Regions from separate parts of the Homo sapiens genome. Here regions 2, 3 and 4 are each linked to region 1. Evidence: promoter capture Hi-C in 16 types of primary human blood cells and fetal thymus (Javierre and others, 2016). All regions are on one chromosome and are shown on one strand. Each heading gives the region's core, a stretch centred on a gene start or on the middle of the fragment in contact. The rest is flanking DNA. Distances are from core to core; before and after follow the strand shown.

Region 1 (7,262 bases), core at 1,547-4,046:
ACCATATTGGCCAGGCTGGTCTCGAACTCCTGACGTCATGATCCGCCTGCCACAGCCTCCCAAAGTGCTGGGATTACAGGTGTGAGCCACTGCGCCCAGCCTATTATCTATTCTTGACAATTGTGGGAATAACTTTAATCTGCTTTTTATAATTTCAAAAGTTGTTGATTGATTGGTTTTTGAAAAAAATGGCCAGGAAGGTAAAAGTGTTTTAAAACCTGTATGTCCTCAGAAACTTGGGTTTTGAGATTTATGAAAACTAGGTAAACAGTATTTTTAAAAGAGAAGCATGATTTTTCTCTAGAAATATTTTTGGCTAATAACTTGGTTCATTTTCTTAGTGTTTATTAGGATAAGTTCTACAGTTTCTATTATTTTCTTTTTTGAACTTGCTAAAATCATGGAGAAAGTCTTAATTGTCCTCACTATGCGAGGTCCTTCTAGAGGCCGAACTGTTCTGACATAACTGTGTCCTATCCCTTTCTTGAGTCAGGAGTTTCAAAACTTTACTTCTAGTAGCTAGCTATTTTGATAGACCTACTCAGCACATAGTTGTCTCAAACCTACTTTTTCTAAAATCTGGCCACCTTCCAAGATCAAAAGTTTATAGAATTCCCCCACTCTTCAATTTGTATACATCTTATATTCATGAACCTGCCATCTGCATTTCTGCTATTTTTGAAAAGCTGAACTGGACAGTAGAGGTCAGAAGTTCCATGAACTGCCAAACTGCTATAAGCAGTCACTTGGGAACCTAAACTCAGACAAGCAAAATGGAGAAGTGAGTCTAACACACGTCACCAGGTAGCAGGTTCATATGTTGCCTATTGTGAAGGCTGGGATCTCCAGGGTTTTCATTATGCTAGGTTATCAAGGTCTGAGGTAGTGTGCTTGATAGTGAAGACTATAGAGTCAGACTATCTGGGTTCAAATTCCAGCTCTGTCACTGTTCTAGGTGTCTATTGCTATGTAACAACCACCCAGATGACAATCTTTTATTATTATCACTTACGTTTCCGGGGCCTGATTTGGCTCAGCTAGGTTTTCTCTCTAGGTCTCTCAGGCAGCGTGGTCAGTGACTGTGGCTGGAGTTCTTTCAAAAGCTCGCCAACTCACATGCTTGATATAAGTTGTACTGGCAGTAGACCAGGTCCTCAGCTGGCACCATCAGCCCAAACACCTACACATGGCCTTCCCTGTGGCTTGAGCTTCCTCACAATATGGCAGCTGGGTTCCAAGGGTGAGTGTCCCAAGGGAGAGCCAGGTGAAAACTTCATCTCCTTTTATGACCTAGGTTTGGAAGTCACATAGCATCACATCTGCTGTATTCTATTTGTTACAATCAAATCACTAAGTCCAGACCATATTCAAAAGGAGGGCAATTAATATCCACTCTCTAATGGGAGTCTTCAAACCACCATAGCCATGTATTCCCTGAAGACCTCTCTGTCCTTGGCTTTGCTGGTCTGTAAAACAAGGATAATGAGAGAAACTTACCTCAGAGCTTTTTGTGAGGATTAAACAAAGAACAGTCCCTGGTACCCAGTATGTGTTAGTTTCGCCCATTATCACACCACTTGTACATCTGAAGTGATGCTGATGGTGACATCAATGATGAGACAGTTCCCAGCAGATATAGTCTGTGAAGGTCCCACCTTTCCAAACTCTACTAGTGGCATTTAACAAATCCCAGCGCCTGTGGTTCTTATGCCAGTGGGAACAGTTACTATATATGGTCTGAATTCTTTGGTTCACCTCACTTTAGTGACAGTTTCCAGATACAGGTCAGTCCATTTAAACCTGGCCCATTTATGGCAATTTATTTCATTATAGGATAAAGTAGTTAGAACCATGAGTAATAATTACTGTGTCTACAGTGCTTTTAACACCTCAGCCAAGTAATCCTCATCTCACCCAGTGAGTAAGTTTGAATGCGCACCCTTCCCTGTGCGAGGATGAAGAAACCAGGACCTGGGTCAAGAGGATTGTTCTAAATTCTCCAATGAGGCAATAGGGCTTGAGTGAGAAGGTGTGTGTGTGTGTGTAGGGGGGGTGTCCTGATTCTCTGGCCCCTACATGCCTGTATAATATACCCCATCACTGATCATTACTCAGGACCTGTTAATACACTCTATTCAAATACGTATGGGTATTTGAAATTTCTTTTAAACTACCTCTCATGTATTTATAACACAAAGAATTGGCCAGTGTCTATTTCCCACAATGTGAGATTAAGTAATTTAAAAGATACTAAAAGTCTTGTAAATGAAGACACACCACACCACTCAGTATAATTTTTTTCTTTTTCTGTGAAACTAATATTTTCTGATATTCTCGGCATCCAAAAATTTTCATCTTGGGGAGGAGGAAAAATTGAGACTTACTCCCACTGTTTGCCGGAATGTGACCCCAGGCTGGCTTCGAGTTGTCAAATGTTGTATTTCTCATTTTATGTCAGTGAGTCTGGAAGCAAAAAAGGTAGAAAGACTGCCTTCCGTGGGGGCCGCGACGATCGCCCCTCCTTCCCTCAAGCCTCGTCCCATCCAGGCTCGCCCCGGGTGCGGAGGGTCGGGCCGCAAACCCGCAAGGCGCGGAGGCCGCCGCGACGCTCACCGGGGGGCGCTGTGAAGCCGGCACCGGGCGGACAGAGGTGAGTCGGCTCGGAGGCGGTGGCTCCCGTTCCTGCCCGCGCGCCGAGGGGCGAATCCCAGGCAGCGAGGTCGCCGCCCCCGCCCCTCGGCCGGCCCCTCCGCCAGCGGGCGAGAGGGGAGTGGCCGGGCTCCTCCCGCCGCCGCTGAGCACTCCGCAGCTGGGTGCGCACGGGAGCCTCAACCGCGGCGCGTGGAGGCAGTACCAGAGCGCGCGGCGCGCAGTCGGCCGGCAGCCGCGGGACAGCCTTGGCAGAACAGCCGCGGCGGGAGCCCCGCAGCCCCGGGCTGGGCCCGCGTCCCGGAGCGCCACCGGAGAGCGAGGACGACGTGGAGGCGGAGTGGCGCCCGGCGAGGTAGCGCCAGGCGAGGTAGCGCGAGCGCTTTCTCTCTCTCTCCCCTGCCCTTCCCTCTGCGTCCGTCGTCGGCCCCCGAGGCGCCTGCTCCGCGCCTTTGTGCCCGCGGTCCCTGGCCCCGTCGCACCCTGCGGGCGGGGGTCAGCGGGCTCTGCCGCTCTCTTGGGAGACGCGGCGCTGCGGCGGGAACGGCGCACGCTGTAGGTTGCGGAGGGTGGTCGTGACTCCGCAGTGGCTTCGGGGGTGGCGGGAGGGAAGAAGGGCTTGTAAACTAAGTTGCTCTTACTTTGCCCCATGCCTCTCGTACCTGTGGGCAGAGTCGAATCTCGGCTGTCCTCGTGTTCACCCACAGCCCCTCCATTCCTCTGGCCCACAGCTGTTTCCTGGCCCCCTGGAAAGACACGGTGTGGCTTCCTCCGGGCAGGAAAGCGGAGGGAGAACAATGGGGCGTCCTGGGGAGTGGGGTTCAGGTGCGGTGTGCCCCGGCGGCGGCGGGGGAGGAGGGGCCCGGGACGCTGTGGGCCTCCCTGCGCGTGCAGCTGCGCTCGCCTCCTTTGTTCCGCCGCAGCGGAGGGGGTTGCCCTGGGTCTCGTTTCCTGCCCGGGATGGGATTGATTCACGGTCCCAGAGAGGGAAGGGGAAGGGGGCGGGGCTGGAATGGAAACCAGATTAGAGACGGGAGCTACGAAGGGTGGTGGGGCCGGGAAGAGAGTTGGGGAGAGGGTTGGGAGAGGGTGATGAGAGCGCGCTGGAGAGGTAACTACAAACACACAACATTTTGTTCAAGGGCCATGTGAGTTTCTAGAGCTTATTTGTAGTGCTTTGTTCAGGCTTCGGCCCAGCGTTTATTGCTGCAACAAGTTGTGTGCTTCTTGAGTTTCTAGGCGTTCCCAATGTTAGATTGCTCAAAGCAAATCTTCTTAGTTACAGTGAAAGAAGCCCCCCCCCCTTTTTTTTTGAGATTTGAAAAAATTTTGCTATGAACTATGGTATTGGTGTGTATGTGTGTGCCTCTGGGTCTGTGTGTGTAGCTAGTGGATATTGGCTGGAATGGGTAGGAGACAAATTTTATAGAATCAATTTTGACGTAAAATTGTTTTATAGTATAATATAGTACAACAGTTTTCCAGGACTGTTTGAGGGCAGAAACCACCAGAAAATTAGACATTGCTATAAATAAATGAATCAGACTATGTAACACAATTGAAAAACCCTTTTACAGTCTGTCCCAGGAAACACACCACACACACCAGCGTTTGGGGTTTGAACTGAGGAGCCCTGGCATTGAAGTGTTCTGTGCTTTCACTCTCTGTGTGAGGATCGTTTAGAGGTGGTAGAATTAAATGTAATGTGTCAGACATTTGTTAAGTGACCTTTCCTAGATTGGAATCGAGACTCGCCAAAGGATTGGCTGACCTAGGGAGGGAGCTATGGGGGATTGAATGATGTGTGTTTTTTGAATGGGGTATTCCAAGCAAAACTGTTTTGGGAGGAGGCTGACATTTCCAGGCATTCATGGTTTGTGCCTGTGGGACACTGGTGGGAGGATTCCCAAAGTCGGACTGAAGGTTAGCATTACTGTGGTGATAATTTAGGAGACATTCTGTTGTAGTAGTCTGGCTGCAGACAGGGCTGGGAAGTGGCCCAGAGCTGCCTCTTTGACAAGCTGAGGGTCCGCCATTAAACCACCCCTTTGGCCATTTATTTTGAGATGAACCAAGTTTGAAAGCCTCTTAACCTTAGAAGGCTAATTAGGAGCTTGCTGTGGGGGAAAAAAATATCTCCTGCCCACTAAGTGGTAATGGAAAAGAGCTGTATAAGCTACTGCTGAGGGTTTGTCTTTTTCGTGGGGGATGTGGTCAAATTTTCAGGCCAGGCTGAAAAGCACTGGGAGTTGTCCTCAGGAGCCATTATGATGTGAAGTTGAAATGGGATGGTGTCCAACTGTCAAGCTGTTTGTCATTAGAACTAACACACTGCCTGGCAAAACGTTGTGCTAGGGCAGCTAACAGAGGGAGACTTTTTGTTGTTGTTGTCTTACCATTTTGGACTTTTCACTTATGCTGTGAATTGTTTTATAAAATACAACACGATTGAATTCCTCTCAAGTACTCATTGTTCTATACATTAACAAAATGTAAAGCATCTGAACATTGCTGCTACTGGAGATGTGGACAGATAGCAGAATCCTAAGTGGCTGGTCTCTGGTCTCTGGCCTCTGGCCGTTCTGGTGGATGCCTGATTGTGTGATAAGGCTGGCAACAGGCTGTATCCCCTTCCCAGGATGAATCATCACTTTGTCAAGCCTGGAGTTAAAGACTAACTTACCCTGATTGCTGCACAGTTATGCAAAGCAAGGAGGAACGTCTGACATCATGGGGAAGAAGAGGGAGTGAGGTGAGTGGGTGGTGTTTGGCTAAGAAGGGATCTTCAGCATGTAGCATCCATGTTTTTAGCATTTGTCCTCCTTTGGGTAAGATTGTCTTCTACCTCCCTTCTACTGTTTTCAATAGCTGAACATTTGGATTTTAATTAAATAGCCTAACAATAATTATAGCTATCATTTAGTATGTGTTCATTACATGCCAAGAATTTTACATACATTACTATATTCATCATCACAACAACTTGATAAAGTGGGTGTTATCTTCATTTTCCAGTGGAAACTGAGGCCTGGAGGAGTTAAGTAACTTGCCCCTTACACCGTACAGATGCTCCTAGATTTACAATGGGGTTATGTCCTGATAAACCCATCATAAGTTGAAAATATTGTAAGTTGAAAATGCATTTAATACACTTAATCTACCGAACCTTAAATGTGTCCAGAACAGTCACATTAGCCTACAGTTGGGCAAAATCGTCTGGTAACACAGTCCACTGTAGAGTATTGGTTGTTCATCCTTGTGATGGTGTAGCTGACTGGGAGCTGCGGCTCGCTGCCACTGCCCAGCATTGTGATGGGGTATCGTACTACATGTGGCTAGCCCCAGAAAACATCACAATTCAAAATTCTAAGTATGATTTCCACTGAATGCCTATCATTTTTGCACCATTATAGAGTAAAAAAATCCTAAGTTGAACCATTGTAAATTGAGGACCCTCTGTGCTTGTGTAGCTAACTACTAAGTGGTGGAAGTGCGATTGGGGATCCCAAAGTCCATACTCTTTAGGTATATACTGTATGGTATGATGTATTTTAATAATAACAACAGTTTGATTATCTAGTTGGTTAGCCCCTGGCAGATGTCAAATTACTTTCACGTCTATTATTGTAGTTGATTCTTCCAAAAACCACTGTGAGATAGGTTTGGAAGCCCAGGTTAGGACATTACAACTCTTAGAACTGTATTGCTAAAGAGCTGTATGTTATGGCCTGTATGAATAAGCTGTAAGTGAATGAAACTTTACTTTTAAAAAGTTAGGTTGCCAACATTTAAAAATAAGTTCTTTTTTCGAAACATTTAAAAGTGGTAGAACAGAGTAGATCTTATATTGCACTCAAGGCTTTTATGTTTATTGAAATCCATTTTAAGCCCTTTTTATCTTACAGCCTTTAATAGAACATTGCACTTTGCTTCTTAACTGAGACCCGATGCCAGAGTGTCTTTTTAAGAAGAGAAATAAGGAGGGAAGGAATGTGCTTATAAAGAGGAAGTGGGACATCAGAATTGGAAACACTCGCAGCAGCAGGCCATAGATTTTTCCCAGCACATGCTTTTTGTCCTGGCAGTAGCCTTTTACAGAAGGCATTCTTCCTTAGGGAAGTGTCAAGGGTCTTTCTTTACAGTATCCTCTGAGATCATCAAATTTCTGAGCTCTGTGGGAACACTCATTCCACATGATTTTTGTGCTCATCCCTTCCCCACAGGGGAAGTGAACTAGTTTAGGCATCTGCATGAAAAGGGAATAGCAGTGGTATCTGTCCTTAGGGTGGCACTGAGAGTGGCACTGGGCAAGAGGTACCAGACTTTGACACCAAGTACAGGAGCAGACTGGAGTTTAACACTTGGCATCATGGATTGTTTGTGGATTCCTCAGAATGCTCCTGGGCAAATGGAAAAGTCAATATTAGGTTTTTGTTGTTGTTGTTGTTTCTAAGATAAGAATTTGAAGACTGGAAGTTCTGCCTTGTTTATTTATTTCAAGCTAGGACACCATTTGGGGTCTTCAAGTTCTGTGGTATAGGTGAGAGTAACTTTAGTCTCCTCAGGCTATGAAATTCTCCTCCACTGGCTATTTTAGACTTTTGCCTCTGGAG
Region 2 (7,557 bases), core at 3,355-5,854, 910 kb after region 1:
AAACTTTTCTCTGACACTCAGAAGGCCCACCCTGCAAGGACTATCATGAGAGAGTCTAACATGATGGGAAGAAGACATTCTCAACATTTTTGCAGAGGAGTTTTAGTGATGAGATGTTTAAATAGTCTCATCTTGGGAGAGCCTACAGGTGGCAACATAAGTGGGTTGTGATTGCATTACTAGTGGGCATGCACCTGGCTAACTAAGCAATATGACAAAAGAGAGTTGGGCTGCAGGGGAGGAAAATGGCAGATGTTCCATGTTGGCTAAGGGTAATTGTTCAGGAACCTTGTGAGTCATGTCCTTAGTGGCTTCTAGAGTGGTTGGGGAAGTATTCAGGGAGGAAGAGGGCTTGAGGTCCCATAACAGCAATTATGAGGTGGTAATCCGGAGATGAATGTGTTACCCACAAAAGAATAATGCATTCATGCATAACCAAGAGCTGAGAGCACAAGGATGGCTGCCAATTTTTATCTCATGCATAACTCAAGTAATCCATACTGTCCAGCTGAGAACAACACTGGTGTGACTGTGGGTGACAGTGAAGGCTTGTCTTTTGTATTGTAAATATTATACTAAATGCAAGGTTTGAATCCAGATAGGAAAATCAGTCATAGGAACTCTTCATCCCCATATCTATATGGTTTTCAATTCACCAAATCAGAGATTTCTCTTTAGCTTGTTTCATAGGCACTAAAATTACCTAATATGATTGCTGTTGTAATCATTTCTGACCTCATGGAAGGTAGTTAAGCAAGAAAGAGACCAGGACATTATATGATATAATAGGGTCATGAAAAAAAAGGATTTGATGCTGCAGTAAAAGTAATGAGTGGCCCCAAGGGGGCACAGTCACATTTATCAGATGCAAAACTTCTTATTCACGTTTTAAAGACTGTAAAACATAACGTCTATGAAGGTAGCTAGTATGGTACCCGCACACAGCAGATAGTTGCTATGAATCTATTTTAATAAAAGTGAGCACAGATTATAGATTAGAAAAAAGACAATTATTTAATCAACCCAGAGTCATTTGATCCATTTATAATATTGGCATTATTTCAACTAACAACTGTATTTGTCTAGTACATACAAAAGAACTATGTTGGAATAACCTACAGGCCACTAATTTTAACAGGTTGATGAAGGCTGAGAACTGTTTTCTAACTATTATAATAACCAAAGACAACCATTCTCAGAATATATTTAATCAAAACCCTACTTTAGTGGATTTATCAGCATGTACCATAAGGATGAACTGGTCAAGTCAGGTTCCATTACAACCTTAAAACTGAGACTTTTATGCATGAAGATATTAGTTAATTTGGTGTATAATTTAAACTGATTGGAAATGTTAAATTTAAGAAAATTCTTCAATGGTCAGTACAGAGCCTATATTTAAATATTTTAAATATTTAATATTTACTATTAAATTAAGAATTATTACTCTTTTTAATAAATCTAAGAGTTAGTTTATTTGCTTAAAATATATACTAGACCTTTTAAAAGAAGTAGGTTATAGATATTAAGAATCTAAACCAAATTATATTTTTCTATACTTTTTAATATTAGCCCTTATAAATAATCTCACTGCATTTTATACAGCATGATATACCTGAATACTGGTATTTTTTTAAAAATTATGGATTTATAATTATTTCCACAGATGACTTTGCATCTAACTTCCCACTGTGCTTCTTTCCTAGCATATATACCCATTTCATACCTACCAATTTATTGATGAGTAGCCAATTCCCCAATTCTTACTTGTAGATGCATCTCCATTTTGTGCAGATTCACTGATGGCAGCCAATGATCAGGTACCAGGGTCAACTTTACCCTGTTTGTGATAGAGCAACAACTATTGTGCAAGCTGATCATCAAATATTTTGCCAACCATGGGACATTTTAATTAGACTATTTAAAATCAACACTCAGACACAACTCATGATGGGTAATATCTGTTGATGTGCCATTCTTATATTTCCTGGGGCAGAAATCAACACCTGTGGTATGAAAAGCATATTACAGGCTGTCTACATTGTTTTCTGTTTTGAAAGATGCTGATCTGTCACAGATGCTGACGTACATTGTAATGCTCAAAATACTCTATACTCGAATAGGGATGAAAGTGCTGATGCTACTCAAATAGGGATGAGATGGCTGATGCCTACTTGGGAACGCACCAGAATGGCTGGCACAGGTTCAATCATTAAATAAACATAAAATCGCTTTTTCATTTTGAGAGAAAATTCTATCAAAACTAGCTTAAATTCTTACATGGTTGGGGGAAGGGTGAATACAAAACAGTGCTTGTATATTAAATTTGAAGGCAGAGGAAGTTAAATGCAATGCTAATTCCATTAACCAGTTTCTGATTAGTGACATGGCTGCTTTTGAAAATGGGGAAGGATTATCTTTGTGCTTCCAGTGGTTCCCTTGGGTTCCTATGATTAGAGGAGTCCAAGACTATAGGGGAAATGTTACACTTGGCAATGTTACACTTCAGTATTTAGAACCAGGACTTATGACCTTCCTCATCCAGAAGTGGTGTATGTTTGTGGGGAGGAGAGACACTAAATAATATGTAACACTGGGTACAACTCTCTCTAGTGAATAGTTCAGGGTTGGTGTGTGATAGAGCTTTGTATAAGAGAGAGGACGCTCTGATTGAGGATGTGGTTTGAGTAAGCATGGACATAATGATAACATGTATACTTTCTACATTGGTACAGTAAGCATGCTAAGTTAAATTTCTGACTTAGCCATGACTGGCATTCACTCCTCAAATTCCACAAATCAAAAACAGTGGAGAGCTTCTATTTAGAAACTACTTTGGTGCTTGTGTCTCCAATAAGGACCACAGACAGAACTTTGTATCAACCTTAATGAATTTTATCACTTATTTCATTTATTTTGGGATAACACATAAAGTAGCATCTCTTTTTAATAATCCTTCTAAATTATAAAAGCTTCCATAATGCTTATAGCAGGTACGTTCTTTTCTCTCTTTTCTCTGGAGACTGTTCAGGTGATCGCCAAGGGACTGTTTGTGCTTAGATTCCACCTCCACAATGGAATTGAAACATATACATATTCTTATGAGGCTGGTGATATTGCAACCACCATCTTCATGCAGCTGATTTTTGAGGGCTTCTTGCCTGCTTCTCATCCCTGGTCTTTGGAAAGTACATTCCCCCACTTTGACAGGTTTCTGTACCACTGCATTTTGGGCAGAATAGGTCTAAATGGGTTTTCAGCTTCTCTCCTTCTATAAAACTTATAAGATCTTTATGCGAAATTTTCATACCCTTCCTGGGAACTTTAAGTTGGATATCGATATTTCTTTCTGTTAAAAAAAATAAAAAAGGCAAAGTTTCCTCCCATTGGCCAATGCACCCTGTGGTGACAATTATTAGGTTTTGGTGTTGTACTATACAATTTTCTTGTTTTCCAAGCTTATGGTTGGAACAAAATCATTTAGACAACAATAAAATATTTAAGATAGTACAAAGCTGGAAAGCACCTTATATATCAGCATGATTTTGACCGAGAGCCTATTGGGAGAAATAATTTAGTTTTGGGAGAAATAATTTAGTTTCATTAACTAAAGTGGCTATCCTTGTCACTTTGGCTAATCAACAGTGACTCAGGAACTATGTCTATCTGGGAAAGAGTAAAGAGAAGAAAGCGTGGGTTTTTAAGTAAAATAAGATACAGATTATGAAAATCCTTATAAACACTTGGCTTACAGTAACTGTAATTCTAAAGTATTATTACTAAAACTGAGACTGAGGGTGAGATTTTTATCCAACTTAGACTCTTCAAGATAGGCATTAGTTTGTATCCAAAAGAGTAGGATTGCTGTATTTGGAATCCATGGTTCTAAGCCATAGCTGCTAATTGGACAAGAGAGAGGGGAGGCTTAGCTGTATTTCTGGAATTCCTGGATTGTTTTTCTCTCTAAAATCAGTTTAAAAACCATCTGAGGCAGTTGGCAATGCTGCCCAGCAGCTGCCCAAGTAGCAACTGCAACAGCTGGATCAATACAGCTACTGCTACAACAAAGAGAACTGCCAAGACCCATGAAATGTCTAAATAAGCAGAGGCCTGGTTTTATTTACTTGTCAAAAAAAGAAGAAAAAAGATGAGGCCTAACACTTGTTTTTATAAGAAATTATCTAAGATTTTATGGTATTTCTGCTTAAAATAGCACAGAGGAACTGAAACAGGAATCTAGAGACCAAAGCTGTTACTTACTACTCATTATGTTATAGAATTTATAGCATATGGCTTAATGCTCTTGAATACAAGAAACATTAAAATACAGAGGAACATTTGAAAAAAAAAAACAAGATAATAGAGGTTTCAACGTCATTGAATCTTGAACTATTCACTCAACAAATATATGTTGGGCACTTAATCTAAGCCAGATACTTAGGCTGGTGCCCAGGAAACAGATATGGAAAACAGACAAAAACCTCTGCCCTCTTGCAGCTTACCTTCAATATTTTTATTTTATCCATTAATTCTGTAGCTTCTTTAATTCAAATAAGTGATCTCTTATCCATAATGCTAACAACAGGTAACATTTCATGAATGTTTATATGTACCGGATACTGTTCTAGGTACTACACATACATGAATACATTTAATCCTCAAAACAACTCTATGAGGCAGAAATTGTTTTTACAGATGAGAAAACTAAGCCACAGAGAACAGCATTAATGTGCCTAAAGTTCCACAGTTAGGAAGAAGTGGCATTTCCAGTATTCAAACCCAGAGTCTGGGTCCTTAATCCTTATACCCTACTGCCTCCTCATACAACAACCACTCCACAATGCAGTTGATGGGTATTCTTGATTAGTTTATTTCTATTGATTTAAAAATTAAGCACATTGGTACCTTGTCTTTAAAGAACAAGTTTCTGTTTATAAACAGGGTATATCACCAGTAACAAATTTTACATATGCCAGAAATATGTAGGCCATGAGAGTTCTTAAAAATAAACACAAAAATCCCAGCTCTCAAATCCGATTCCGAATTTGGCGGTTATAAAATAATCACACTTAAAGTGTCTCTCTCACCTGTAAGCCAGCATATACCGTATCTACAGACTGAAATGCTATTTATTTTGCAGTGAGCACAGAATCCTGAGACCACGCAGAAGGATCACTGGGATTATTAGTCTAAACTGTTCCTTTTAGAGATGAAGAATTAAGGTCGAGAGAGGTTAACATATGTTCTTAAAGTCACATTTGAGAGCCTACTATCACTTAGAGATTGTATAATAGTCCCAATTTTTCTTTAACATAATTTGAGGATTAATGGACCAAGATGCAGTTTGTATAGGATGGTGTAGATAAGATAGCTATGAAATTCTTCCCTGGCAACCTCCAGAATATTTAATATGAATATTGTGATTTAGGGAAATCAGTGTCAACTTTTCCTACCTGACATTTGGGACAGTTTAACGAAAACTTTAAAATTTCTTTAGAACAGAAGGTGTTCAAACCCAAATATGGTATAGATAAAGTCTGACTGAGGTAAAGTGGCAACACAGTATAAACTATTAACTTTGTTGCCAAACATATCTGTTTGAATATTGATTTTGTCTCTTAGTAACCTGGACATCTTAGGCCACTTTTTTTACTCTGAATCTTAGTTTTCTCATCTGTAAAATAGGAAGAGAAATGCGTATTACTTAGATTGTTATATATATCTTAAATAAGTTAATGTATATAAGTATTAAAGCTTAATAAAAACACATAAAAGTTAGTTTCTGTACTCTGTGGTTTTCTTAATTATTGTGACTAAAAAACAAAATAGCTCACAAGAAGTGTAACACTTATTTGGATATACGTTTCTGAAATGATGTCTCCAATATATCATATGTCAAGAAGTTTGTAAATATATATTTATTTTTAATGTGAAAGCAAGACATCACTTTGACACCACGTATGGCACTTCTAAGCTTATTTATTTGTTTCTACCGTCCCTATTCCCTCAAATTTTAATAAAAGTATACCTGAAAAGCCCACTATAACTTTATTCCAGGCTATGGTAAAAAAGATAAAATCTTTGATAATAGGAAATTATTTTAAGTGTTAAAAAATCTTCATTGTCTAGCTTAAAATGACTTTTTAAAGCATCACCTGCACCCTTTCTCTCCTTGCATTTCATATTCTAGTCATGCCAAACCATCTGTTGTTCCCTGAAAATGCCATGCTGTTCCGCACTTCCATGTCTTCATGTGCGTTTCCTTTATCTCAAATGGCCTTTTCCTTGTTCGTTTGCCAAGTTCTTACCTGTTTTAGTCTACCAGTGGTACAATCCTTAGAGGCAGGATCCACGCCAAATTTATTTTTGCCTCCCTGGCACAGTATGAGTACCATGCAAAATGTTTGTTATGTGAATTTATGAAGCAGATGATCAAGCAGGGGCAATACCATCTTCATAAAAATGTGAATTTCACAATAATGTAAGAAATTTATCTGTACAGCCGTCTACTGGCACTTTAAGAAAGACTGAAACACAGACTTAAAAAATCTATGGAATGATGGTATTACTGTTCAGATATGATTATCATTTCATAGAGGACCAAATTTAAAGGACAGAACTTATTTGGATATACATTTTTGAGATTATATCTCTGATATATTGTGTGTCAAGAACTTTGTAAATCTAGATTTATTATTTTTAATAAAGCTAGACAGATCTGATGCTAGCCAAGCATTTTAGCCATCAGTAATGTTCATTACTTGGCACAGAGTTGGTATTTCCTAATAAATTTTAAAATAACACTATGCGATATTCAGTAGAAAATAATATATTCAAAATCTACTTTAAAGCATTTACATCAGAATATCACAAACCCATGTAAAAATTACCCATGGTTACACTGACTACTGAAAATTAGCATTTCCCCTATGTTTTTGTCTCCACTCTAGTTCCCTTACATTAGATGTTATTACTCCACACTTTAAAACCTCTAGTGCTGGTGAGACTTACAAGTAAGGATTCAAGGTATTAATCCTCTCCTAAAGCTAGAAAAACAACCACAGCAACTCACAGAATGATCCACTGAAATCAGGAATAAAAATAATTGTGCATCGTATGCTTGTCAATAGGAAATCTTTAGTACATGAATTTAAAAAGAGAGCAAATCGGAAAATGATAAAAATGCCAAATTATTCAACACCTAAACTATTCTTTAATGTTTAACTCATGTCCCAACTCCTTTCTAAGGTTCTCCCTATTGACTACCTAACATAGGGTCGAGCGATCATTTTTTTCTGAATGACTACAGACCATACCTTCTGATCTGAAGTTCCATGTATGGAGGTTTTCACTCTCTCAAAGGACTAGAAACTCCTCCTCAAGGCCAAGAGATTATTCTATAAAGATTATTTTGTAACCCCACAGTGCTAAAAGCATTGTAGATAAATAATAAATATTTGATGACTCTTATTTGTCAACAAATGCTAAATGGGGAATCGCAGGCACAATGCAGATTGTTTTATGCTACCGTTATTTGTAGTTAAGGGAAACCCCCAA
Region 3 (7,440 bases), core at 2,355-4,854, 930 kb after region 1:
ATTGTTTCAGCTGAATAAATAGGTCAATGGTTGAAGATTTTAGAACTCCCTATAAAATGTACAATAACAAGTTAAAATAAATTTTATAAAACCTTTATGTCCCTTTTATATTGCAGTAAAAATGTTCTCTCAAATGCAGTAAATGACAGACATACCCTTGTGCAAATGGGTTAAGCTTAAATTATTTTTAGAATAATCAGGTCTAATTTTCATTACTAATGTAATATTCATTCACGCTAAAATATAGGAAAATTTTTAAAAAGTAATATTTGATATATTTTTACATGATTTTAGATTTGTAAGTTTAATGATATCATTTATGATAGTCACACATGATAAATGTTTTACAAGTAAATTTGTTCCCTTCACTCTTTTGTTCAGTGTACTCCATTTTGGAATTATATTAACTTTTGTTAAAATAAGAAATTAGAAAATAACTATTAACCATCCAAAGTGCTTGCCAAGTAAACCCAATTATTAATTAAATACACATTACTGAGAATATGTTATATAGAGATTAGTTAGAACAATCACTAGTTACAATTGTTGGATTAGCCAAACAATCACAAGTTATTCAATCACTTTTGCTTTATTCAAAAATGAAGGAAGCTGATTCTGCCCTCTCAAAACCTTGGTAATACGAATTCTACAAAAATACAGAGGAAAGTCTATCATCTGTATAAGAGAGATAGCAAGTCAAATATATCTTACGATTACAACCCAATGGATATGTGAACTGAATTTGTGCAAGTTATTCTAAACTAGGTTTTTAGGTTTTAGTTACTAAGCATTTTTGGCATCCCTCAATAAAGAATTTAAAGAAAATTAAAACTAATAGTCTTACAGACCAAAGTAACATGTAGACTAGAAAAACAAGCAGTTCTGTTGAGAAAAACCTGATCAGTCTCTAATTTTAAAAATTGTATGCAATTAGGAGCAAATACTCATCACCACAATTTTCAGAACTGCAGTTATTTAAAAGAATAAGCTCAGAATTAAATGTGTTATATGCTTTTTTTTTCTAAAGCAAACATCGGAAGTTGTTTTTGTTTTCTCCAAGTTACTATGAAGCACCTCTAACTGAAAGGAAGAGTGATTAAAAAACAGAAAAAGAGAAAGAAAATAAAGTGTTTTCCAAGTGATGTTTCACTTATATGGTATAAGTTATACATGTCATATTCATGAGATTAAAATTATTTCCTGAAAAAATGTCTTATTCAGATCACAAGACAACATAATGAACCAAAGATTTTAATATAAAACGCAACAGGGAAGAGTGAGTTTGACTTCATTTCCATTTGCATGTGCTAATAACAATGAATGAAAACTAGAAACTAGTATGTGAAACAAAGTTCACATCTTATTGTTAGAAAAATAAAGATATGAAGTACAGTATGGTAGGATAGTCAAGCAGAAAAAAGTAAATGATGATGCTTTAACAGAAAGAGAAATGAAGACATTCTTGGTATGTTTTATTTTGTCTTTAAAGATGCTAGAAAATTAACAAGACTGGTGGGTAAACAGTGGAACAGTTCAGTCTCAGCACAATATTTGCAAAATTAGGTAGTCTACATATAAAACTAAACAGCTAGAAAATATACAGAATTTTGCATAGAAACTGTTTCCTTACAAAAGCAACATTTTAAAAAATTAATTGATTTCTTATTAATAATATTCCCATGGTAAAACATCTACTAAAGGAACTGCCTTTTTTCCTGTCTTTTTTTTTTCTTTAAGATTTAATATGCTATTCTAAGGTCTTATTTTCAAAACCTCTAGGGACGCTTTCTTGGGAATACTATATTAATCAGCTAGGAAAACTTTTATTAGAAGTAGAGAAAGACTGTCCAGACATCAAAGGACTGTCCAACATCATGGGACATTGAAACATATTCTATGCTTGAGTCTTGACTGCTGTTCAGTTTTAGTCTTTAGGAAAAAAATTGTGTTTCAATCTGCTGCTGTTCAGTTTTAGTCTTTATGAAAAAAAAATTGTGCTCCAATATGCTGCTCTAATTATGTTCTGTGGGTATTGCTTATTTGAACTAGTTAAGTCTTTCATTACATAAGGAAACTTGATAAATCTTTCAAGTGTTTCCTGAACTAGATAAAGGGTGCACTAAATATCTGCCACCCTGAACCCAAGGCCTTCTTTTACTTATCTTTTATCAAATTCTGTATTTAAAAACTAAAATCAACTTGGAATAGCACATTTAATTATTTTACACAACTGAAGCAAGGTCTTGAGAGAATGCTTTTATTTGTTTTGTTTTTCTTAATCTTGAAATTATATATAGGTTGTGTTTTGTTTTGCTTTGTGTGTATAAAAGTCTAATTTTGTTTGAATTTCATCGGGAAAAGTATTTGGGACATTTACAATTTAGTTTCAATCTATAGGTAAAATCTTTATTTGGTAGTAAGTACATTAGATCAAACTTTTAAAGTTTCTCTCTCTCTCTCTCTCATCTTATATACTTCCCTAAACAAAACTAAATAATGGGAACATATATCATACTTTAGTAAAAATAACTATAGATTTAATCAAGGAAGCAAAGATAATATTTTACTTTCATTGGACTTCATTTTATCTTTTTCACTTTTATGAACTAAAGTTCCTTCAGTTTCAAATTATAAATCTGATAATTAAAACCTTGGCTATATGGTAGGTTATGTATGTCTTATTAGCACCTAGTAATTGAGAGCAGTGTCATATATTTAAAAATCCAATATTTAAATGATTTCCTCATGAATTCTTTCTTCCCTGCCAAATATGCTTACATGCTTCTCTTCAGAAGTTTTTACATTATGCCTATCCATATCAAAGATAACTTACAAACAAACAAACAAACAAATGAACAAGGAAGGTTAACTGGAGATAGAGTATGATTCATAAGTATGCCAAATAATTTGCACGGTATATACATGTACTTAATATGGTGACAATTTTTTATGGTTTCACCTTTCCTAAAATGCAAAATATGAAATTTGTCTTAAATATCTGAAATGGAACATACATAAGTAAATATACATAATAATATCCACCAGTAAATCTTCAAATATGTAAAAAGGCAACTCCTACCTCCATCTCCAGATCCTGATCCTGCATCTGTGGGGGGAAAAGTTATATTTGCTAGTAAAACATATTCAAAAATATTTATGACTTTTTAAGCTCAAGTTTATTTTCTTAGTTTAATACTGCAATAATATTGTTTGAGAAAAATACTAATATTTAATCCAAAAACGTACATTCACATCAATTTAATTTAATATCTATTAATGTAACTTCTATAATAAATTATCCATCATTTTTATTCCAGAGCTTTACGAAAACATTATTGCCCCGTTTGGAAAATTTCCTAATCTCGGCTATGAAAAATTCCTAATCTTGACAGGCTGGATTTGGTGCCATTAGCAAAATAAAGTATTAAAAATGAGATGCTTGTAACAATCAGTAAGTTTCAGAAATTAAATAGTCTAATGCGTGTGGCAAATAAACCCATAATTAAGGCTTGTATTCTTGCAAATTGCATATGAACAAAGAGAAAAGCAGTTTAAAAAGAAATATATTTTATATGGGTGTTGATATGTTTTACGAATACCACAATTGTGGATGATTCCATCTGTGTCAAATCATCCTTTGTTTTTGAAGTCAGTAGAAGACAGCTTAATTTTTGCCTTTGTGCTTAAAGTCAGATATTCACTAAATGATTCTTGCAGAAAAAATCATACTTCCTCTTCTGGATTTTTCTTTCACCACTTCTTCTCTCCCCTTCCTTCCTTTAATTACAATTGGTCAAAGTTGTCTATTTCTGGGAAGGTAGTTCCCAGAAACACACAAAATTTCAAGTTGAAATCAAAACCATTACGATTCCATCTGCTTCTGCTTCTTAAGTGTAGACATCATCTTCCTTCTGACTTTCCATTTTTGTTTGTTCACAATACATTTGGTTATGTATTTTAATGTTAATACAGGGAAATAAGATTAATATTGATATTCTCTGCCTGATGTGCCCTTATTCCACAGTGAAATCTCACCCAGGGTTCAAGACTTATACCAAATGCCACTCTTAAGAATTTACGGTCCAATTAAAATAAAACATGACTTTTACTTGTTTGCTTCCATGATACTTTATTGAGAAACACCACATAGAAAGAGGCATGGTGTTTGAAAATCCACAGAAGGCTGACAAATATGGAAGAAGGAAGGCCTTCCCAGCAGCCCTCCTGTTTGTCATGTATTGGCATTAGCAGTACCATGAAGGAGCAGTAGTTTGAACTGTCAGTCTTGTTGGAGGCCCACATTAACTAAATTTATAGGGTCTAATACTATTATATTAGAATGTCAAGTAATCAATTAACTATTAATGTGACAGGACATATGTCTTTGGATCAGCATATCTTTTCCTTAAAGGCAAGTTAATTGGTAAAATAATTTATGATAAAAATTATTCTTAGTAAATGTAGAATCAAACAAGGATTTTAATCATAAGAATTGACTGTTTAATGATAATAGACCAAGAAAGACTGATGAATTCATGTTGATATTAGAATATTCCTACCAACTAAACTGACTGTCATAAGTCACAACACCATCTCTTTTGGACAGAACAGTGCTTGGGTGCTTTTTGTATACTTTCACAGACAAAAATTTTAATTGATTGTATTTGCATTAATTTGAAAGTTTAATTCAGTATTACTTATACTCATTCAGGGCTAAATAACAGACTGTGGTATTACAGTGATAACACATTCTAAATATATTTTAGTTAAATGTATATAGTTTCTTTTAAATTTTCCCCTATAAACTTCTTTAAGTCAAGGAAAATGTGTTGTTCATCACTCTACACTTATATGAACATAATGGGAAATGCATAAAGGCTTAGGAGTTACAAACTCCAAACCTTACTCATTGCATGACAGAGAAATGTTATTCAACCTTGCTAAGCATATTCCTCCTCTATTCAATGGGTACAGTAATATCTAACCGATTGGGCTATTTTGAGGCTTACTGCACAGTAGCATATATTAAATGCTTAAGCACTGTCAGGAACATAATAATTAAAATGTACAGTAAACATCTTGCCTATTCATCTACGAGTATTCTAATAAATACATATGACTGGGGAAAATCAGAAAAAAATGCCAATAGCATTTTAGCTTGTATTTCCCACATGCATTTCTAAAACTTCAAGGGGCATGGTCCTTAAGACAATATTTGATTTGACACAAATGAAACAGCCAGGAAAAAAAAGAAGGAATAGTTTAGAAAAATGATCACTTAAGTCCATGGCATCATTATGAAATCATTATGGGAGGCTTTAATGATTTTCCTTTATTATATGATAAGTCATCCTGGCCAACTGATGATAAATAGCCTACTAAAGTCTTATTAGTAAGACAGAAACACCTAAGAAAAGAAGTCATGCTGTTAGACCTAAATCTGAGCTCCTAGTTAATGCATTTCCTACAAGGCAAAAAGTTAAATTGACGGTAAGACCATTGAGCAGATTTCACAATAAGAGTCCATTCTCTGGACAAAAAAAAATTAAGTTCAATGAAATATAATAAATATAAAGTTATATCTTCTACTGCCTATTATTCCTAGAGCTTACAACTTGCCACTTCCATTCAGTGTCAAACAGCATTAAAAAATAAATGGGAAATATACAAAGAAAAGAATGAGAATCCCTTTTAGATCAAAAGTCAGAACCCCAATTTATTTACAGTCAGACCTGGTTAATCAAAATTACTTTGTTCTCTCCGTCATTATTCAGATCAAAAACCTTTTAGATTTACAAGTCCATGGAAGATGCATTCAGCAAGACTGGCTTACTAATTAAATCCTGTAGAAATCTAAGTATGTGAATGAGCTAAAGATGGATTACTCGATTGTGATTAAATTTTCTACTTGGCTAAGTATTTATTTTCATAGTATAACCAGCACATCAGGGACTAGAATGGAAAGACTTGAATGAATCAGGAGAATGTGATTATATGCGCTGACAAGAACTTGGAGGTTGGCAAGTAAGAAAGAGAGATTTTGCTACATTGGCCATAACCGTAACTTCTGGTCTGTTTATTATAACAATTGCCTGGCAATTCTCATGTGGCTATTGTTAGAAAAGAACAGATATCCTCCATGATCTTGATCTTGAAAAAGCAAATCCTTTCCTCAATACTCTACGGTATTTGCCTTCATCCTTCCTGGTTCCTGGGATTTTACTTTTTTTCTATTCAATTTGTCCTAAAGTACTATTTCTCATTTCTTTGGTATGGCTGACTGATTCCTCATAATTAGTTTGCTCCTTGTCAAACTTTCTATATCCCCCATCCTTAGTATGAGAGCAGCATGCTGGTCCTCCTCCTTTCCTATTGGAGAAGGCTGCCCATTGACTCTCACATATTGCTGTTTCTTTTATTCATGACTTGTCACTCACAGACCAAGCAGCAATGACCTGTTTGCTTTAGCAAATAAACAAATGGAGTACCAGCCCAGCTTGCCTCCTGACCACCCTTTCATGAAGAACATTCACATCTGAGCAAATAATCCCTTAGGAGAAAAGACTACTTACAAACCAAAACCAAAACAAAACATCATTGGCCATGAGATATGATTCTATTCTCTTTCTTCTGCTAATTCTCAGAAACTTGGGTAGTCACCAGTATAACTTAGTATTATCAATTACTAACAATCAATATGCTTAAGATAATCTTTTAAAGAATATGAGGCTTTTCTCTTTGCTCATTTTCCACCCTGCCCCAGTCACTTAGCACATAACTTTTAACATCATACACTAGATTAGAAATACCTGTTATCTAAGAGGGACTTTTGAATAAATAGACTTTTCATGACACTATTCTCTGCTTCTATTTTTAGAGAAAGTTTATAATTGATGACGTTGTTATTATTCCTGAATATGCTTATATCATCCAAATTCTCAGGAATTATGACTTTCCAGAAAGATGCTTATTTGCCATTAAGAACAACTATTATGGCACCTTACAGCCTCTACAATATATGTGATTTTGATATCAAGCTTAACTTGAAAACTCAGCCCCATTTTAAAGCATTCCCCATTTTAAAGCATAAGCTCTAACAACCACTGTAGACACAAGGAAAATTTGAAAAGCTACAGAGCACATGAAGTCACTCTTTCTTCTTACTTCCTTTATAGCATTGTTGGTAAGCCATGACTAAAAAACTTTGTAGAATCCCAGGTTAATTGAGTCAGAAATGACAAATGTCACTAGAAATTATGTCCATTACAAACACATTAGTCAATAAAATCTACTAAATAGTAAGAAGACCATTTTGTAGAGCTGCTAAGATTAGACGTCAACTTCAGAGCCCAAACCTGCAAGATTGCCTTCCAGCAGATAATGCTATTGTTCAAAACAAACAAACACAAATAAACAATACAACTGTATTCATACATAGTC
Region 4 (7,380 bases), core at 872-3,371, 950 kb after region 1:
CATGTCATTTTCCATAGCAAGGCTGGTGTGGTAACTAATCAGGCTTATGAAAATAAGTCATGCTTGAAACTAAAGGCAAAGTCCTTAAAAGTGTTTATGCAGTAATTATGATAATGAAACAGGACCTGCTAGGATTTCAGAGTTTGGCTATGTAAGTAGAATTTTAGAGAACCTCTTAGCAGAGGAAAACTGTTTTTGAATTTTCTGCTAAGTAAATTTTTGGCATACTTTCTAATAATATATGCTCTTCCTAAGACGTTTTGCCAAAAGTAAGTTAAAACTCCAAAGGAGTTAATTACTGGTTGTAACTGGTTAACAAATGCGGTTGCTTCCACAGAGGTCCTTTAAATTATTAAACAGTTTGAAGCAAAGCCTTTTCAATGGGAATGCTGCAATTTTGTTGCACTTACTCTGTACTTAGTGTTATAGTGCCACCAAGAAACAAATTCTGAAACTGGCAAGCACCACCAAGTGGCAGAAGAACATCACTCATTGAGCAGAGAATTGTATTACTGAATATGTAAATAAAAATATATACATTATTTAGACTTGTCACTAGGTACCAAAGAAGTAGACAAGACTGCATTAGCAATTGGATTAGTGCTTTAACTTTTCCCCAGCAAGGCAAAATCAGTTTACTTATTAGAATTAAATTTAAGTCTATGAACTGTACTTTGCATTGCGTATCATATGATTGCTAGTAATATGACACAATCATACCATGTATTTGCAAAATTCTTATTTTAAAATACTATACCATATTTACTTTCAATCTTCTTGAGCTAGAACACTTTATTTGTGGCATATACACTCTAGAATTGATGCAGAGGAGCAGAGTCCAGTTGTTAGATTTTTCAGTAGAAATAGTGCAGATATATTTTCTCCAGAAAACTTAAGAACATTTTTTTTTCTCATGGAAAGAACATCATTATAAAGTGTGAGATTACTCACAGCTTAAGTAGGGGGCTTGGGAGTTATTCTCCAACAAGAATAGTTTAAGATAAATAAATGAACCTGGGAAAATAAGATACACTGCCAATCAGAACTCTTATCTCCTTCATGATTTCATACTTTCTGATTGCTTCAATAAAGGTAAGATGTATCCTTTGCTTCTTAGGTGTCAGGCATTGTGCCATGTAGGATAGAACATGTTATTTTTATTTAATCTTTAAAACACCCCTATGAGACAAAGAATATTATCTCATTTTATATAAAAGGAATATGGCTTTGAAAGCATCAGGCAACTTGCCCCAAGAAACAAATCTCGTCAGTGACACTGCTGGGACTCTGTGAAATTCTGCCTGACTTCAGAGCACAAGACATAAGTCACTAATTTCTGCTGTATTGCTGCCTGTTAGCTTCTGAGAGGGGAAACTAACTGGGAACGTATCAGTTCTGTCCATGATACTTCATTTGCCCTTTCTGTGGAGCCGCAGTAAGGCCCAAACTTTAATTCTCAAACTTCGGCAATAAGATCCAGTGATTTCTGAACCTGGTTGATCATATGAATTCCTTGAGAAACTTTGAAACAATAGACAAATTCCAAGTCCCACTATCAGGGATTCAGAAAATCTGGAGTTGGGCCTTGGGATCCACATTTCAATATTCATCCTTGTTGGAGAAGTAAGGTACCACCTATACCTATATGACAAATGAAAGGATACCTCGATTTTTGCTCAGTTTTCACAGAGAGGTTTCTGAGACAGGTTAAAAGCTTTTACTCAGTGTAAAGATGAGCTGTTGTACATGTCTGTCTCTCTGTTTTTATGCATATGTTCACCAAATATGTATTAAGCTTCTAATATGTCTGACACAGTAACTTTGTGACTGTAGACAATTTCCTCATTTGTAAAATGTGAGTAATAACAATACCTGCCTCCTGGGCTTGTTCTAAAGATTAAAATAAAAATGTATGGTTTAATGGTAGTGGATTTGGGGGGATCCCCTATATAAATAAGTGAATGGAGGTATGAATAAATAAATACATAAAGATGTGTGTACTTATATTTATACACATAATTAAAAATAGTTAAAGATGTACAAATTAAAGTTAAATGTATGTGATATTGAAGTATATGTTGATTATTGATAATGAAGTACAGTATAATTTCTAACCCCACACCTTAACATCTCATACTTAATAACTCATATCTTAATTTCTAGCCTACTTAAGATACATAGATATAGATAGAATGTTCTAAATCATTATTGCCTTAGTTTTAATGTATAATATTCATATGAAAAAGTATCTATCAGTGTGTAGTAAATGTATTAGAACATTATTTATAGGTCAAATGATATTGACAATGTTTCAGAGTCGTCATCTTCATTTCTGGATAATTTTTCAAACTGAGAGTAATTAAATTTGCTATTTTTTCACCCTTTTCTACAATGGCAAATAACATATAAACAATGAGCTGTGATTTAAAGAAATAATTTTATAATGTAAAAGCTTCCCTATGCCTTATTGATTCCCATGCCCTTAATTAATTTTGGTAGTTTAAGTTTGTGATTTCAGTGCTGAGGAAAGTTTATTTCATCTTAGAGCAGTGGGGCTCAGTCATGATTTCACATCACAATCACCTGGATAATTAAAGAATACTGATGCAGAGTTCGTATTCAAAGACTTGGAATCCCTAGAAGTGACACAGAAGCATTGGTATATATATATTTTTAAAGTTTTCCTGGAGAAACACATAGCCATGATTGAGAACCACTGTCCTGGGGAAAGTGACTATTTTCTCATTACTCAAATAGCCAAGTTTCAGGAGGTAAAATACTTACATTTTTCTCCATTAAAACTTGTAAAACACATATCTCACCAAAGACTATTAAAACATCTAGCCAAAGCAATATGAACTAGTTAATGTTTGCCACTAGCTTGCCAGTAGTTAAAAAAAAAAAAAGGAAGAACTGTTATTGGAAGAGAGCTAGATTTAATAAGCAGTAGTCATCTCTATACAATCTGGTGTCTTTTTATTTATAAATTCAAGTAGGTTTCCATTGCTATTAATTTAATCATAGCCTTCTTAGGGCTTAGCCTAATGCTTTATTTCAAACTCATTTTGAAATTTATTCTCTGGAGTCAGAAACAGGAACTAGAATCAGCTTGGAATGAAACTACCTTTCATGTCTCTCTTTGGCTACTCATGGCTTCTATTGGGGGAAATTAGAAAAAGACTTAGTAAAGGTAGTTCTTTCCAATTTGTATTATTAACACCATCCAGTATTGCATATTCTGAGCATTTTACTCATTTATTTCATACCATAAGCCCCAATCATTTCTCCCTTTATTATCTGTGACATTGATTTTTTTTTTCTCCAAGTTACTTGTTAGTGGTAGAACAGACCCCCGGAGCACTAATGTTCCCAGCCGCTTTGCTGCTGCTCTTCTACCCACTTGTCGTTCTTCTAAAAAAATAAATAAAGAAAAAATAGAAAAATGGAGGGGAGGAACTTCTTTCATACAATATTTAGGAAAACTTAATATAAACATCGCTCACTTGAAGCTTCACAGTGTGCATTTACACATTAAAGGCTCTGAGGAGCCCTGCAGTGAAATCAAGCCAAAACACATCAAGCAAAACTAAACACCGGTTTAACTTTATTGACCTCAGATTTTCTAACATTATTTGATCATGAATCCCTTTTAGCAAGAAACCACTACAATAAACTATGGCAATGGATTTCCATATATTACTCCATTAGTAGCAATAGTTTAAGGAATGAATGAGCCTTTTGAAAAGTTGTGTTGCCATTTTTAGGTGCCAGGGCTGGTCATTCCCTTTGACTTGTCTTTTCACCAATGAAGTCAGCTCACAATCAGGTCTTTACATTAGTAGTGTAAATGTTCCACAATTGTATCTTCTGATGTAATGTATTCTGACATCATAAGCATTTTCGGAAAATGATTAAAATGTTAGCCTTTCCTGTACTCCACCACATTACCGCCTTTAAAAATCTTCCTTCCTTTATTTTACCTTACATAAATTCTAAACTGGATACTGTCATTTCCTTAGCAGTGATTGTAACACAGAATCAGATACAGATTGTGTCTGATAACACTACTTTCCAAAAAACTGAGTCTTATGTTGTTGAACATGTTAAAAGTGTTTAAATAGAAAATTCAAAAGATTTAAAAGAGAATTTAATTGACTTATTTACATGTCTATACTTATTTCTTTACAGTATAAATCTGGACATTTAGCCACTTGCTGATTATTATTAGAGCTTCCAATATAATGACATGGCAAGATCACATGACAGGAGCTAGGCAGCTGTTGACTATTTGAGTTGCAGTCTTTGCCTTGACATTTATAAGCATTAAAAAGCTCACTCGCTATACAGATATCTCCCATTTTTAGATGTACTAAATGTAAAATATATAATTTTACAATAATACTATATAATATATAATAAACATCTATTGTAGATAAAGCCAATCTATAAACACTTATATTCAAGATGGATATAAGTTACTTAGTTTCTCTGAGCCTCTATATATTGTCTTGGCCAGAGTTCATTTTAATACTGAGGTAACAAAGAAACCCTGGTGTAAAAAGAGGAAGAATATGTTGTGGAACTCTAGTGGAGTAAGGACATAGATTATGGGAAGGACTGAAATATACAAATAGGAAATCATCAAGAGTTAAAGCACACTTTTAATCTTTCTGGGGCAGCATTGTCTCTATTTTTTACTTTAGCTATTTACATCCTTCTTTGTCTGCATGGACCAGTATTCACTGTGATCCTACCATCCCCATCTTGGATATAAGTGTTTATAGATTGCATTTATCTATAATAGATGTCTATTATATATTATATATGTATTATTGTAAAATTATATACTTTACATTTAGTACACCTAAAAATGGGAGACATCTGTATAGCGAGTGAGCTTTTTAATGAACTATAGAACTAGTTTATTAATAATTATGTAAATTCTCTGACTTTCATATGTAAGATTTTCTTTTTTTTTTTTTTTTTTTTTTGAGACAGGGCCTGAGGCTTGCTGTTTTCCAGGCTGAAATGCAGTGGCACTATCATAGCTTACTGCAATCTCAAACTCCTGGGCCCCACCATGCCCAGCTAATTTTTAAATATTTTGTAGAAATTGGGTCTCACTATGTTGCCCAGGCTGGTCTCAAACTCCTGACCTCAAGCAGTCCTCCTTCTGCAACTTCCCAAAGTATTGGGATTACCGTCATGAGCCACAGTGCCCAACTAGATTTGCTTTTGAATGTAAGAGTCAAATAATGTTGAATTGTAAAGATCTTTAATTTTTGCTCAGGTACATCATTCTTCATATATGTATATACAGCAAGATGTAGCAAATTGACATATACATAGTTGGCGTGCAACAAATGGTGGTAAATTAAATTGAAATGTTAAAACTAAGTGTATTAATCGACACACTTTGGCAAGAATGCATCTATTTACACTGTTACCAGGGATGGTAGTGAAATCCCCTTTGAATAACCCGGAAGTTCTTTTACCCTGTCTTTTATGGGCAAGACCTATTTTAGAGTCAAAGTCCAGCACTGAGAATGTGAAGATCAGAGCACATCAGAGGTTGCCTAAGCAAGGGATAGTGAGTTTTAACTGTTCACATCTTCTGCTTATGTGTTCCCTAAGGGGTGGTCATTGGTTTTATTGCCTCACTATGAGAGTATGTTATTTGTGTTTTGGGGGTGTTATTATGCTTTTAGATTTTTGCTATCTATGTATTCCCATGGCTTCATGTCAGGAAATCCACTACCCAATTCATCAGACCATAAAACAAATAAATGAAAATTCTCTTGATGCAAAATTTGAGGTTTTCAAATGAAAGGAAAGGAAAGAGAAAGGAAGGTAGGCAGCAGGTGATATTTGGGGACCTGACATACACAGAAACACATGTATAGACTCTATCTAATCTATCTATCTATCATCTATCTATCTTCTATCTATCTATCTATCTATCTATCTAATCTATCTATCTATCTATATCTATCTATATCTATGTATGTATCTATCTAATCTATCTATCTATATCTATCTATATCTATGTATGTATCTATCTATGTTTCTATTTATGTGTCTATGTATCTATGTATCTATCTATCTATCTGCCTACCTACCTATGTCTCTATTGGCATATTTCCGTTTATTGTGCTTTGCTGCCCCCTTTTTTTTTTTTTTTTAACAAATTGAAGGTATGTGACAACCATGCATTCAACAAGTCTATGGGTGATAGTTTTTTCAACAGCATGTGCTCATATCATGTCTCGGTGTCACATTTTGGTAATTCTCACAATATAGCCAACTTTTTCATTATTATTACATCTATTTTGGTGACTTGTGCTCAAAACTTCAGTGGAAGAAGTAACTGCAGATGTGGTGGAAATAACAAGAGAACTAGAATTAGAAGTGGAGCCTGAAGATGGGACTGAATTGCTGCAATCTCATGATAAAATTTGAAGGGATGAGGAGTCACTCATGGAAGAGCAAAGAAAGTTGTCTCTTGAGATGAAATCTACTCCTAGTAAAGATGCTATGAACATTGTTGAAGTGACAACTTAGCTGATAAAGCAGTGGCAGAGTTTGAGAGGATTGACTTCAATTTTGAAAGTTCTGTGAGTAAAATGTTACCAAACAGCATCAGATGCTACAGAGAAATGTTTCACGAAAGAGCGTCATTTCAGCAAACTTCTCAAACTTTATTGTAGTCTTATTTTAAGAAATTGCAACAGCCACCTCAGCCTTCAGCAACCACCACCCTGATCAGTCAGCAACCATCAACATTGAGGCAAGACCATCTACCAGCAGAAAGATTATGACTTGGCTGAAGGCTCAGATTATTGTCAGCATTTTTTAAGCAATAAAGTATTTTTAAATTAAGGTATGTATATTATTTTTTAGACGTAATGCTATTGAGTATGTAATAGACTACAGTGTAGTGTAAACATAACTTTCCTATGCACTGGGAAACCAAAACATTTGTGTGACTCACCTTATTGTGGTGGTCTGGAAACTAACCAACATTATCTCCAAGGTATGCCTGTACACACAGACACACAGACACATGTATATACATACATGTATATTATATATAATATATAATGTGGGTATATATATGTATATATAAACACATGTATACATATACACATTATACACAACTCAAAATTCAAATCACAAAGAGTTTATATAGAATCATCCTGGCTTTTTAGCCTCAGATCTCACTCCACAAATGTAGCCACTGTCACCAGTGTTTTGAGAATCCTTTCAGATTTGTCCAGGCCCATCATCCTGTCATACCCTCTCTTTCTCTCTCTCTCTGTGTATGTGCGTATATATATTATATATATTATAATTTTATATACACACTATATATAATATATG

The links. The method cuts DNA at HindIII sites, captures the fragments that hold promoters and counts their contacts. A CHiCAGO score of 5 or more calls a contact.
Region 2: a fragment that was not itself captured here is called in contact with the fragment with the promoter of MYO1B in region 1 in 1 of 17 cell types (total CD4 T cells); the score reaches 6.0 in total CD4 T cells.
Region 3: a fragment that was not itself captured here is called in contact with the fragment with the promoter of MYO1B in region 1 in 1 of 17 cell types (monocytes); the score reaches 7.1 in monocytes.
Region 4: a fragment that was not itself captured here is called in contact with the fragment with the promoter of MYO1B in region 1 in 1 of 17 cell types (monocytes); the score reaches 5.5 in monocytes.

The regions. Positions count from the first base shown.
Region 1 is chr2:191,242,608-191,249,869 of GRCh38, forward strand. It overlaps MYO1B (myosin IB), which reads left to right and starts at 2,797. Exons shown (of 31, transcript NM_001130158.3): 1 at 2,797-3,019. It overlaps MYO1B-AS1 (MYO1B antisense RNA 1), which reads right to left and starts at 3,568. Exons shown (of 4, transcript NR_186085.1): 1 at 3,312-3,568; 2 at 1,013-1,466. RefSeq lists enhancers at 2,683-3,305, 4,808-5,601 and a silencer at 2,718-3,107. The HindIII fragment of the contact is 11,846 bases long and covers 1-7,262 here.
Region 2 is chr2:192,151,674-192,159,230 of GRCh38, forward strand. The region is part of intron 4 of TMEFF2 (transmembrane protein with EGF like and two follistatin like domains 2); the gene reads right to left. Among named protein-coding and RNA genes, the nearest start is that of TMEFF2, 39 kb to the right of the region's middle. The HindIII fragment of the contact is 2,296 bases long and covers 3,457-5,752 here.
Region 3 is chr2:192,176,589-192,184,028 of GRCh38, forward strand. TMEFF2 (transmembrane protein with EGF like and two follistatin like domains 2) reads right to left here. Exons shown (of 10, transcript NM_016192.4): 4 at 3,080-3,106. Among named protein-coding and RNA genes, the nearest start is that of TMEFF2, 15 kb to the right of the region's middle. The HindIII fragment of the contact is 6,862 bases long and covers 174-7,035 here.
Region 4 is chr2:192,197,088-192,204,467 of GRCh38, forward strand. No RefSeq gene overlaps it. Among named protein-coding and RNA genes, the nearest start is that of TMEFF2, 5.8 kb to the left of the region's middle. The HindIII fragment of the contact is 657 bases long and covers 1,794-2,450 here.